Regions from separate parts of the Homo sapiens genome. Here region 1 is linked to region 2. The links are contacts of gene promoters, found by promoter capture Hi-C in human tissues and cell types (Jung and others, 2019). All regions are on one chromosome and are shown on one strand. Each heading gives the region's core, a stretch centred on a gene start or on the middle of the fragment in contact. The rest is flanking DNA. Distances are from core to core; before and after follow the strand shown. Region 1 overlaps CNTRL (centriolin). Region 2 holds the start of TRAF1 (TNF receptor associated factor 1).

Region 1 (6,635 bases), core at 3,876-6,375, 160 kb before region 2:
AAAAAAAAAATATATATATATATAGATATATATATTACATATCTATATAGATATATATAATATATATAGATATATATTATATATAGATATATATTATATATATATAGATATATATTATATATATAGATATATATTATATATATAGATATATATTATATATATAGATATATATTATATATAGATATATATTATATATATAGATATATATAATATATATAGATATATATTATATATATAGATATATATTATATATATAGATATATATTATATATATAGATATATATAATATATATAGATATATATTATATATATAGATATATATTATATATATAGATATATATTATATATATAGATATATATTATATATATATAGATATATATTATCTATCTATCTATCTATATCTCACTCTGTCATCTAGGCTGATGCCTTCTCTTACCACCCAATCACAATTAGTCACCCTCTCCTCAGTCGCACTCTCATTCTTTTAGTCAACAAGTAAGTATTTATTTAGCACCAGGCAGTAATGCTAGAGTAGTGAACACAATGGGCAAAATCTGCCCTGTTGGTGCCTTGCATTCTGTCACAAGATGTCTTTATTTCCTTTTTAGCACTGTTTATTTTCTGAAGATCTTGTTTGCTATAAAATCTATAAAATATGTATATATTTATATATAAGCATATATAAATATATAAGCAATACATGTTTGCTATAAAAATCTATAAAATATGTATATATTTATATTTATATATAAATATATATATTTTGCCCGTTGTGTTTCACTACTCTAGCATTACTGCCTGGTGCTAAATAAATACTTGTTGACTAAAAGAATGAGAGTGCGACTGAGGAGAGGGTGACTAATTGTGATTGGGTGGTAAGAGAGGGCATCGGCCTAGATGACAGAGTGAGACCCTGTCTCAAAAAAAAAAAAAAAAAAAAAAGAGAAGACCTCACTAAGTTGAGACCTTAACAACAAGAAGCCAGCTGTATGAACATCTAGGTTGCCCAGGCTAGAGTACAATGGCGCGATCTTGGCTCACTGCAACCTCCACCTCCTGGGTTCAAGTGATTCTCCTATCTCAGCCTCCTGAGTAGCTGGGATTACAGGCGCCCGCCACTACGCCTGGCTAATTTTTGGTATTTTTAGTAGAGATGGGGTTTCATCATGTTGCCCAGGCTGGTCTCAAACTCCTGACCTCAGGTGATCTGCCCACCTCGGCCTCCCAAAGTGCTGGGATTACAGGTGTGAGCCACTGCGCCCGGCTGCTGCTTTTCTTTTAACTTATTAAAATACATCTTTCATTAAACACAATGTTTAAGTCTTATGCAGGCTAAATCTGTCAATATTTTTCCTTTGTGGTACTAGGGTTAGTATTTGCTTAGGGGGACCTTCACCACTCTAAGATTTTAAAAATATTCTCATATACTCTCTCTAATACTTTTATAGCATTTCTGTTACTTGGTGTTTTCATTTTGCTTTGTTTTCATTTAGTTCTTCACCCTTCTGGAAATACTTTTTGTGAATAATACGTGGTAGAAATCTAAGGTTTTTTTCTTCCAATTAAAGGAATTAAGTTGTCTATTATAATGTGTTCATGTTGTATAGTTTATGAATGAAGCTGTAAACACTCTAGAGCAGGAATTAGCAAACATTTTCTGTAAAAGGCTGATATGGTTTAGCTGTGTCCCCACCCAAATCTCATCTTGAATTCCCATGTGTTGTGGGAGGGACCCAGTGGGAGATAATTGAATCATGGGGGCAGGTCCTTCCCCTACTGTTCTCGTGATAGTAAGTCTCACAAGATCTGGTGGTTATTATAAGGGGGAGTTTTCCTTCACAAGCTCTCTTTAGGCCTGCTGCCATCCATGTAAGACGTGACTTGCTCCTCTTTGCCTTCCACCACGATTGTGAGGCTTCCCCAGCCACGTGAAACTGTAAGTCCAATTAAACCTCTTTCTTTTGTAAATTGCCCAGTCTTGGGTATGTCTTTATCAGCAGCATGAAAATGAACGAATACAAAGGCCAAATAGTAAATGTTTTTGGCTTTGCGGGCCATATAGTCTGTGGCAACTACTAAGCTCTGCTACTGTAGTGCAAAAACAACCACAGACAATATGTAAACAAATAAGGGTGACTGTGTTCCAATAAAACTTTACTTACAAAAATAGATAGCTGGCCTGATCTGGCCTGTAAGCTGTACTTTGCCAACCCCTTCTCTACAGAGTCAATGTTGTAAGAATATTGAGTAATAGAAACTTATTAATTTGGAAATGTCATATACTTCTGATTTAGAACATTCACTGGAAACAATAAAAGGTCTGCCACAAATTAGGTGACATTAGGATAATTTTTTTTCGCAGTATTAAAGCACAGAAAAGTTAAAAACAGTATCTATGCTCAGAAATTGTTGGTAACCTACCTTAAATTTCTTGCCACCGTCTTTAGAAAGTGAAAGGTTCAGAGATTTTATCAAAGCCAAATTATCCTGTTTAGTAAGTTTTTTAATGAGGGCCTCTGTAATATATCTAACTCCTGCATGTGAATCAGCTCCTGAAATTATAGAAACAGATCATCATCAGTAGAGGAAAGACATGAATATCACAAAGAACAAGTTGTTTTGATGTTATGTAACAAAAACAAAAATTAAGCCATGAATATACCAAAAAAGCTGGCTATTTCTAATCATAATGTTTTAATAATATTTTACTTCATAGCATTTCATAATTATAATGAAATAATGATGTAATGATTGTAATACTATAATGTATTATAATGTAATAACTATAATGTATTGTATATTACAATTAATGTATTGTAATACTATAACGTATTGTAATGTAGTAACTATAATGATACAAAGATGATAATGGTTATACACACTATAAATATTTGGTGTGTGCCAAGCTTTGGGCTAAGTGGTTTACATTTTTAAAATTTAATTTATACAACAAACCTTTGAGATAGAAATTATTAATATCATCACTTACTAAAAAAAATCATTTGCTCAAGATCCTACAGCTAATTAAGGCACAAATCCAGAACTTGAATCCAGTCAGAGGAATATAAAACTTGCACTTTTAACTATATGAAGTTTTCAGCAATATTTTCGTGTTAGTTTTTAAAAATAAACTGGTAATACTTAGTTGTTTGTTTTTTTAGAAAATTCCAATCTAAAGTTCAGAAACACTGAAATTCTTAAAAATCCTCTTTTCCTATTTTTTTATGGTAAGAAACTCTAAATTTGTTGCACTTTTAAATAGAGAAAATCACAACATATTTTATAGAGCTAGAGCAGTCACTTGATGGATGGCAAATCTGGTCTTATAACTTTCCTGGATATTGTTGTCAAAGACTGTTAATGCCACATTACATTTTACAAAAGTAGCCCTAAAAAGTAAATCACCTCTTGGTTCCTGCCTTACGAGTCAGAAAAAATTAATCCTGGGTTGAGATCCAGGCTGTGAGCCAAAGATTCTCTAAGATTATTTACAAGTTAGTATTAAATTTATTTTGGTGCAAAATAAAAAGATATTTAAATTTAACTTGGCTTGTTCTTGGAAAGAAAATTGATTAATATTCTAAATTTGATAACATTCTAAAATATTAATCAAATTAGAAATAACAATATGCCAACTTGCAGCAAAGATATAGTATAAACTCAGTGTTGTTAATGCTAATAAAACCTGATTAGAGTTTAATGGCTATTATTTCATGACTTACCAAAGAATAACTTACTTTTGAAGTTAAATGCTCTACCACTAAGCTATACCCCCAACAATGCACTTTTGAGAACAGATTCCTAGACTAACAGATGATTTTAAGAAAAAACTAAAACACTAGTGGAACATACATACATGTCCCATATGTGGAAATCAGTCCATTCACAGATAAGCAGTTTGCTAATAAGAAGACTGGCATAGGCCAAGTATGTATAACGTTTTTTTACTGAATTAAGGCGCTCCACTCTGAAGTGAACAGATCTTCCCTCCCCTTAACCAAAGAGGATGGCAAGTTTTGGGATGAGTTTTAAGACACTCTCCTACCACAGGAAACAAAGCTTCCTCTTTCTGAAAACTCCCTCTTTGAATCCACTGACATCTTTACCCTCACCCAGAAACCTCAATCCTCCAACTGTCCTTACAGTCCTTAATTTCTGTTAATAAAAACAATAGATCAAATTAGTACCAGAATGTTACAGTTGGACCAAAAATGCAAGCCGAAAATTTTCCATCTCTACTTGAAGTATGTGGTCAGACCAATTCTTAGATTAAAAAGTGATACCTTTATGGTCTTGATAGTCCAAAAGCATATTGTTTTCATCTGCAATCTCAACTTGCTCACACCACTGTCCTCCAGAATGAAAAGGTAGAGTCTCTGATCCAATCAAAGGTGAAAGTGACCTAGATCTCATATTGGACATAGATGATGGGATAGGAGAGTGAGATGATGATGGTATCTTTGCTTTGGAGAATATTTTTTGTTGAGAACCTTTCTTCATTGCAAGAATAAAGCCAGGTGTTCATCAAAACCTGTAAGAGTTTTCAGTATATTCAACAAGATTAATTTTTAAGAGTTATCAAAACTATTCTTTCTAGAACCTTCAGGTCTATAAAGTTATAAACTCAGAGGCCATAAATGCTAGGACCCATACTACTCCAAGCTGATGGAGCAGACACTGTATCAAACATCACTGATGACCTTGCCAGAGAGAAAAGGGATCTCCAGAGGGGATAGAATTGACACATGCTCCAGCTGGAAGTGTTGTCATTCCTGTTCTGTTTATTGAACCAAACTAGTCCCAAGGCCCCTTTTACCCACATAACGGGGTCCTAGAATGCAGGAAGCTGGAATATTTGGCAACCAGCAGTATTTAATACTGATGAGCACTCTCTCCTTCCTCAAAGTTTCTTCCTTTGGTTTCTGGGACACCGCATTCTCCTGGTATCCTCCTGCCTCCCTGGCCACTCCATGGACTCCTTTGCTGGCTTTTGTTCCTCCTTGCAGTGTAATTTAAACATCAGAACTCCTCATTGGTCCCTTCTAGTTTCTGTCTAATCTTATCTTGGACAAATTAATGCACACCCATGGTTCCCAATGCCATGTGTTTACTCTATTTAATTTTTTATTTTTTTTGAGACAGAATCTCACTCTTGTCGCCCAGGCTGGAGTGCAATGGTGCGATCTCGGCTCACTGCAACCTCTGCCTCCCAGGTTCAAGCTATTCTTCTGCCTCGACCTCCCGAGCAGCTGGGATTCCTGGCGCCTGTCACCATGCCCGGCTAATTTTTGTACTTTTAGTAGAGATGGGGTTTCGCCATGTTGGCCAGGCTGATCTCGAACTCCTGACCTCAGGTGATCCACGTGCCTTGGCCTCCCAAAGTGCTGGGATTACATATGGGTGTGAGCCATCATGCCCAGCCGATATTTATAACCTCAATCCAATCTTTCTCTGAGCTCCAGACTCCTATTTCCAATTGCCTACGTGATATCTCATTGGCATCCTACACTCAGTCCAGATTGAATTTATTTACCCCGTTCCTCCTCTCACTCTCCTTTTCGTCTTCCAGTGTTCCCTAAATACTGAACACTGCTCGCTGGAATAAGCCAAAAACCTGGGAGTCATTCCTGACACCTCCCTCTTCCCTTGTCCCATACTCAGTCAATCGCTAAATCCTGTTAATTCTTACTCCCAAATAACCTCTCAAATTAAGTCTGCTTCTTTCCATTTTCACTCTCACGCACTCTAATCCAAGCCCTCATCAAACTACTATAACAGCTTCTAACTGATCTGTCTACAAGCTCTCTTGCCTTATTCTTCCATCATTACATTGCAGTCAGATAGCCAGAGTGATCTATTTAAAAAGTAAATCCAGTCCAGGAGCGGTGGCTCATGCCTATAATCCCCGCACTTTGGGAGGCCGAGTCAGGTGGATCATCTGAGGTCAGGAGTTTGAGACCAGCCTGGCCAACATGGCAAAACCCCGTCTCTACTAGAAATACAAAAATTAGCTAGGTGTGGTGGCATGCACCTGTAATCCCAGCTACTTGGGGTCGAGGGGAGGAGGCTGAGGCAACAGAATCTCTTGAACCCAGGAGGCAGAAGCTGCAGTGAGCCTAGATCGCGCCACTGCAGTCCAGCCTGGGAAACAGAGCGAGACTCCATCTCAGGAAAAAAAAAAAAAAAAAAAAAAGTAAATCCAGCAGTCTGTAATGAAGGAAATCTTTACCATGACCTACAAGGTGGTCCCCCATGATCTGTCCCTATTGCTCTAGATTCACCTCTGTCATTCGTTCCCTCAATTGTGGGCTCCAGTCACACTGGCCTCCTCACAGTAATAATAATGCTTGATCTCATTCTTTTTACCATGTTAATTTGTAGTCTTCCTTCAGAGATCAGCTCAACTGTTGCTTCTTCAGGAAAGCCTCCAGTGCAGGGCAGATGAAGTGAAGTCCCCGGTTCTATACTCTCAATGAATTTGTATTTTTTCCTCACATAATCAGTTTGAAATTACACATTTATGTCATTTTGCTTAACATTTGTCTCCATTCTGAACTGTATGCTCCACGAGAGCCTGTCTGTTTTGTTTACACTGTCTCCCGAGTCTAGCATAGTGCCTGGTACCTAGCAGGAA
Region 2 (6,301 bases), core at 400-2,899:
TGGCAGGAGGGCTGGTTGGATAGAAACTGGGGCGGGCCCAGGGCATTTGGCGTCCCCGACATGCGTATACACTTGGAGAGATGATTCCCTGGAGATCCAAGTGCCTGTATAGACAATCTTTTCTAGAAGTTCTACCGTTAGGTGAGGCGAGAGTAGATGTAGAAATTGGAGACGAGAATAAAGAGTGTTTTAAAAGCGTGCGTGGTTACAGGACTGGCTCTGGGTTCAGGGGTCCCCACTCACTAGCTGTGAGACCTTGAACAAGTCGCTTAGCCTCTCTGTGCCTCAGTTTTCTCATCTGTAAGGTGGGGATGATGATGGCAATACCTGCTTCACAGAGTGAAAATTAGATGAGATGATGTCTGTAAAATTACGTAAGACGGTACCCAAAAGTAGTACTATTTTTCCCTTTTCTTATTAGAGCAGGTTGCGCACGTTTTGATGTCCGTGGGAATGAGCAGGTAGAGAGGGTGGTATTGAGGCCGGAGGGGAGAGAAGGGACCCACAGATGGGGAGAGAAGTCTTGGGTGCCTGTTTTATCCCAAACCAGGGGAAGGAGGGAACAGGTAGGGCTGGCTGCAGGAAAGCTTGCAGGTATGGGGTACACAGTTAAAAGGGAGTGTCTTCTGATAGTCTTGATGCAGGCCTGGAGGTCGTTTGTTATGGGGGTGGAGGTCCTGATGTACATTGTGGCGGTAAGATGCCGTGCTGTCTTTGCCACCAGCCTGTGGCAGCCCTGGTGTTACACCAGGGCAGGTGGGCAGTTTAATGTATCTCAGGCCAGATGACCTGCCCTGCCCACCTGTTGAGGCTCCAGTAGATAGACGTGAAAGCACAGTATAAGCATAATGCACCACTTTAATCCTTTTCTCTGAGGAGCTGGAAGGCCTGTAGTCACCATCTGAGCCAAATGTCATTCAAGTACTTCACTTGGGTTACACACCACACTTTGACCCACTATCTCATTTAGTCATCACAACAAATGGGTGAAATAGGTATTATTGTCCCATTTTACAGATGCAGAATCTGAGTTTCAGGGAAGTTAAGGACTTTGTCCCAGGGCCCACAGTTAGTAAGCAGTGGACCCAGGATTTCAACTCAGCTCTGTCTGACCTCAAAACCCATGATCTGAAACCACTGTGAAAGTTTGCAAAACCTCTGTAGCAGCCAAGCAGGATGGAAAGATGTGTAGGGATTGTCTTCTCCATTTGATAGATGAGACAAGAGCTGGGTACTCTGATCTCCATCCCAAGCACACAGAGCTTGGGGCCCCACAGCCCTGGTGTGAATCCCACTCCACTACCAGAGGCTGTGTGCCTTTGGACCAGGCATCTTGCTTCTCTGACCCTATATACAGCTGCAGAAGAATTCCTTGCAGGTTGCTGTAAGGATTTGGAGGGAAACTGTTGCCCAGCACACAGTACACATTCTGGGAGCCATCGTTTCCCCAGTGCACTTTTCCTGCAAATGTGGATCTACATCCCACTTGGATGCTGAGACCAGCTGCTGTGATCTTGCATTTGTTTAGCGCTTTGTTCTCCTTGAGGCAGTAAAGTGGTGGCACCTGACCGGAGCATGTAGCCACCTATGACTTCCTGAGTGGGGTGGTGTGGGGAGGGCCCTGAGGAGTCTGTGGTCCTAGGCCTTGGATTTCATCAGGGCTTTCCTGCTCCTTCTGGTTGCCTCAGTCCCAGGCAAGATAGGGTCCCAGAATCTTACAGCCCAGAGGCCACCTGTTGCAACTTCTTTTTTACAGATGGAGTCATCAGAACCCACTGTGAGGAAGTGACTTCTCCTTGAGGTCACCCAGACACTCCAAACAGAGCAGAGCAAAAGCGCCTAGAACTTGAAATTTTGGACCTGTCTCCAACACCCTGGGGATTTCCACCAGGAAGGTGAGCACCCCCACTGAGAATTCCAGGCTGCTCAGAGGTGCCAGGGAACACAGACCAGGGACCAGCTGTGGCCCCCTCCTCCGATGTGCCCAGGGAAGTGGGGGAAGCCAGCGGCAGCCTGCGATTCTCAACCAGGGGAACTCTCACTGTGCTTTCTGAGAGTCTGTGACACGGGTCATTTTCTCTGACTTGCTCTCTTGCTTTTTCTCACTCTAAAAAAAAAAAAAAATGACTGGACACTCCTAAAGCCTTCAGTCACCATCCAGGGGATTTTTATCGCCACAAAGGGTAATTCCTGCTCCATCCCTGCTGTGACTCAGCTGTGACGTTGAACCACACAAGCCAGAGAGAAGAAGATAAAGTCATCAGAGCTCCTACTCACCAGAGAGTGAGGCCCAGGCCAGGACTCCACAAGGCTGGTCCCCTGCCCTGGAGCAACTTAAACAGGCCCTCTGGCCAGCCTGGAACCCTGAGATGGCCTCCAGCTCAGGCAGCAGTCCTCGCCCGGCCCCTGATGAGAATGAGTTTCCCTTTGGGTGCCCTCCCACCGTCTGCCAGGACCCAAAGGAGCCCAGGGCTCTCTGCTGTGCAGGCTGTCTCTCTGAGAACCCGAGGTGAGGTGATGGAGGAGCGGAGGGTGGGCAGAAAGTGGGTGCCAGGGAGGGACCCCTGATGGGAGGTGAGGGGCAGAGGAGCCTGTGACTTCAGGCGGTGACTTTTCTTCTCTGGGCCTCAGTTTCCACACCCTTTTCTCACACTCCCTGACACTGCCCCTCTGGCTGTGGTGGAAGGAGAGGAAGCCACAGAAAGGCATCAGCTCCCACAGGGGAAAGCCATCCACACCGAGGAGAGCCTCGAGGCTGTGAGGCCACTGTCTCACTGTGTGGTCTGGTGCTCTGCTAATGTCCCTAAGCCGCAGCTCGCTTGTCTGTAAAGCTGTTTTCTGTGTCATAGAATTGTTAATGAAGCCCAATGAATAATAATCACAAAAGTCCTTATAATAACAAATATAAACCTCTTGGTGAATGACAAACTGTTAGACGAATATCTCTCCTTCCACAGCATTGCTCATCACCTCAGACCGTTTGCTGGGAACCCTTTTGGAGGGGACAAAGAGATCGATATATATTTGTGTATTTAATGATACTTAAAATATTAACAACCCAGAAAGGCATGATATCAGTACTATTGTGGACATCCCTCTTTAAGCAATTATGCACCTACTGTGTGCCAAATGCTCTGCCCTTGGGTCCTCAGCACAACTTAGAGGGGTGGATACTATTATGATCCTATTTTACAAATGAGAACACTGAGGCCTAACAGATTAGGTCAGCTTTGGTCAGTTTCCTGGCAAATATGCCCTTAAACTATCTCATGTGATGACCTTTTGTTTGCGGTTTTACAGCTTAAGAAGGTGGCAAAGCTGAATCAGGCAAGTGAGAAGTTCAAACATGACGACAAAGGAGGAGGCTGTGAGAATAGCGAGGAGAGGCTGTGGCCGTGGAAAGGCCAGCCAGGAGGTGGAGGAGCAGAGGTTCACTGGTTTTACCATCAAGCGGATTGTCAGGGTTCAGCTCAGGCTCTGGTAGTGGGTCTCCTGGTTTCCCCTCTCCCTCCTTCCAAAACCTGGCAGAGGAGGGAGCTGATTGGAAGTTGGAGGGCTGAGGCCTGAGGCCTAAGTCCTGAAGAGCTTCTACTCAGCTCTGCTCCTGACTCACTCTACCTTGACCAATCCACATGCCCTCTGGGGCCTCATTCCCTCACTTGTAAAATAGACTATCTCGGTAGCGGTAGCAGGTCAGAGACACCAGGAGCTTTGTAAAAACACAGTTGCTGGCCAGGCGCAGTGGCTCATGCCTGTAATCCCAGCACTTTGGCAGGCCGAGGCAGGAGGATCACTTGAGGTCAGGAGTTTGAGACCAGCCTGGCCAACAAGGTGAAACCTCATCTCTACTAAAAATACAAGAATTAGCTGGGTGTGGTGGTGTGCACCTGTAATCCCAGCTACTTGGGAGGCTAAGGCATGAGAATCACTTGAACCTGGGAGGCAGAGGTTGCAGTGAGCTGAGATCGCACCACTGCACTCCAGCCTGGGCTACAGAGTAAGACCCTGTCTCAAAAAAAGAAAAACCCCCAAAAAACAGACAAAAAACCCACGGGTACCCAGGTGTTACCCATTAGAATCTGACACCCATTCCTGATTAAGAACCTCTAGGACAGATGTTCTCTGAGGCCCTTTCTTGTTCTAATAGGCCATGATCCTCTGTAATTACTAAACATATAAGACCAAAACCAAATGGAGGACCAAATGAGAAGAGCAAATATAGTCACATGTCAGCAATCTTTTGCCTAAACCCCTGAGATCAGATGTGTTTTGTAATTCAGAATTTTTTTTAGAAAAGCAAATCAGGGCATCATGTAATTGTGGCAGGGAATGCGGCAGTGCCCTGTAATCAAGCACATTAATGTTTCTGCAATGAAACATGTATATATTCACACTAAGTGGGGCAAGTAAGGGCTATAATAGCTTCCGGTCAGTGCAGTCACGGCAGGTTTGGCAGCCCAGGAAGCTCACTGCAAACTACCAAAAAATGTGGGATACTCGGCAGTTTTGCGATTTAGGAACTGTGGCTCTGGGATTGTGGACGTACATGATCACCACCCTGCTGATAGTTGAGGCTTCTGGAGCTGTCAGGAGAGTGGATGGTGCAGGGAGCTGTAGTGCCTCTCTCCAAGGCTTTGTCCATGTTTCCCCAGGAATGGCGAGGATCAGATCTGCCCCAAATGCAGAGGGGAAGACCTCCAGTCTATAAGCCCAGGAAGCCGTCTTCGAACTCAGGAGAAGGTACGTTGGCACATCACAGAAAGGCATTTGTCCGTTGTCTTGATTTTTCCAGGTTGAAGCCAAGTAGACAGCTGCCCACTCCACCCCTGGCAGGCACCTCCCAACTAGTCCTGAGTCCAGACTGAATTTGCTTTATAAGGAATAAGGAGACTGATGTTCACAGTGGTGAAGTGTCTTGCCTAAAGCTACCTGGCAATAGACTTAGAGTGAGAACAGTCCAGACCAGGGGTCCACAAACTACGGTTCATGGGCCACATTCTGGCCCACCACCTAAGCAACGAGCTAAGAGTGGTTTTTATATTTTCAAATGGTTGAAAAAATCAGAAGAATGATAGGCCATGCATAATGACCTGTAATTCTCGAGGCTGTGAGGCCACTCTCTCACTGTGTGGCCTGCTGCACTGCTAATGTTCTCAAGCCACAGCTTGCTTGTCTGTAAAACTGTTTTCTGCATCACAGAATTGTTATGAGCCCCAATCAATAATAATCAAAAAAGTTCTTATAATAACAAATATAAACCCCTTGGTAAATGACAAACATGCCTGTAATTCTGAAGTGTTAGAATTCAAATTACATAGAATTACATGCCTGTAATTCTAACACTTTGGGAGGCCGAGGTGGGCGGAGAGCTTGAGCCCAGGAGTTTGATACTAGCCTGGGCAACATGATGAAACCACATGTTTACAAAAAATATAAAAACTAACCTGGCATGGTGGCACATGCCTGTAGTCCCAGTTAGTCTGGAGGCTGAGGTAGGAGAGTCGCCTGAGCCTGGGGAGGTCGAGGCTGCAGTGAACCATGATCGTGCCACTACACTCCAGCCTGGGTAGCAGAATGAGACCCTGTCTCAAAAAAACAAAAAAAGATATTTTGGGACACATGAAAATTATATAAAATTGAGTACTTGCAACAAAGACTTCATAGCCCAAAATATTTACTATCCACCCCTTTACATAAAAAAGGTTAGCAAACTCCTCATCTAGATGGTTCTGTCTGCCTCTGTTTGCCTTTAGGTGGGGAGAGACCATTATCAGCTCACGTCCTGAGCTCTGTCAAACGGTGCTTCTAGGAATAAGAGACACATTTGGAAGTGTGATAGGCCAGAGAGACATTTTCAGGAGCTACAATTTAGAACCCTGGCCCTCCCAAGCTGGAAGGACCCTCATAGGTTACATGTCCTGCTCAGAGGTTCCCACATGCTATCCAGAACTGATCCATTCCCACCAGCTCATGACAAAATGATAAAAATAAGGCAATTCTATAAATCAGTTTATGTAAACTAAATTCTTTCCATTTATAAAACCAAACTTTTACTCTGAGATTGCGTCTGTCCTATGCATGTCTTTATATAAATGAAAGGATGTAATCGTAGATGATAGTTTTTGGCAAAGCCTTTGCTAAGTAAAATTAAAAAGATGACAATCTCTTTGTTAATCTCTCAATTTAAAAAAAAACACACTCGTATTGGTCCACGAATCCAAACAGGCAGGAGTCACTGCTCAAAATCAAATCCTCTTGTTTACACACGGGGCCCTGAGACCTGCAGAGGAGTCTCGTTGCT

Evidence for each region. The method cuts DNA at HindIII sites, captures the fragments that hold promoters and counts their contacts. A contact is called where the count stands out against the background at its distance.
Region 1: a fragment that was not itself captured here is called in contact with the fragment with the promoter of TRAF1 in region 2 in 1 of the 25 tissues and cell types used here (adrenal gland).

Annotation. Positions count from the first base shown.
Region 1 is chr9:121,086,193-121,092,827 of GRCh38, reverse strand. It overlaps CNTRL (centriolin), which reads right to left. Exons shown (of 44, transcript NM_007018.6): 3 at 4,285-4,532; 4 at 2,423-2,553. The coding sequence starts at 4,501. Among named protein-coding and RNA genes, the nearest start is that of CNTRL, 15 kb to the right of the region's middle. The HindIII fragment of the contact is 3,281 bases long and covers 3,485-6,635 here.
Region 2 is chr9:120,922,144-120,928,444 of GRCh38, reverse strand. TRAF1 (TNF receptor associated factor 1) reads left to right here and starts at 1,649. Exons shown (of 8, transcript NM_005658.5): 1 at 1,649-1,895; 2 at 2,144-2,509; 3 at 4,653-4,740. The coding sequence starts at 2,370. RefSeq lists enhancers at 1,371-1,690, 2,031-2,370, 2,831-2,900, 2,497-3,020. The HindIII fragment of the contact is 9,494 bases long and covers 1-6,023 here.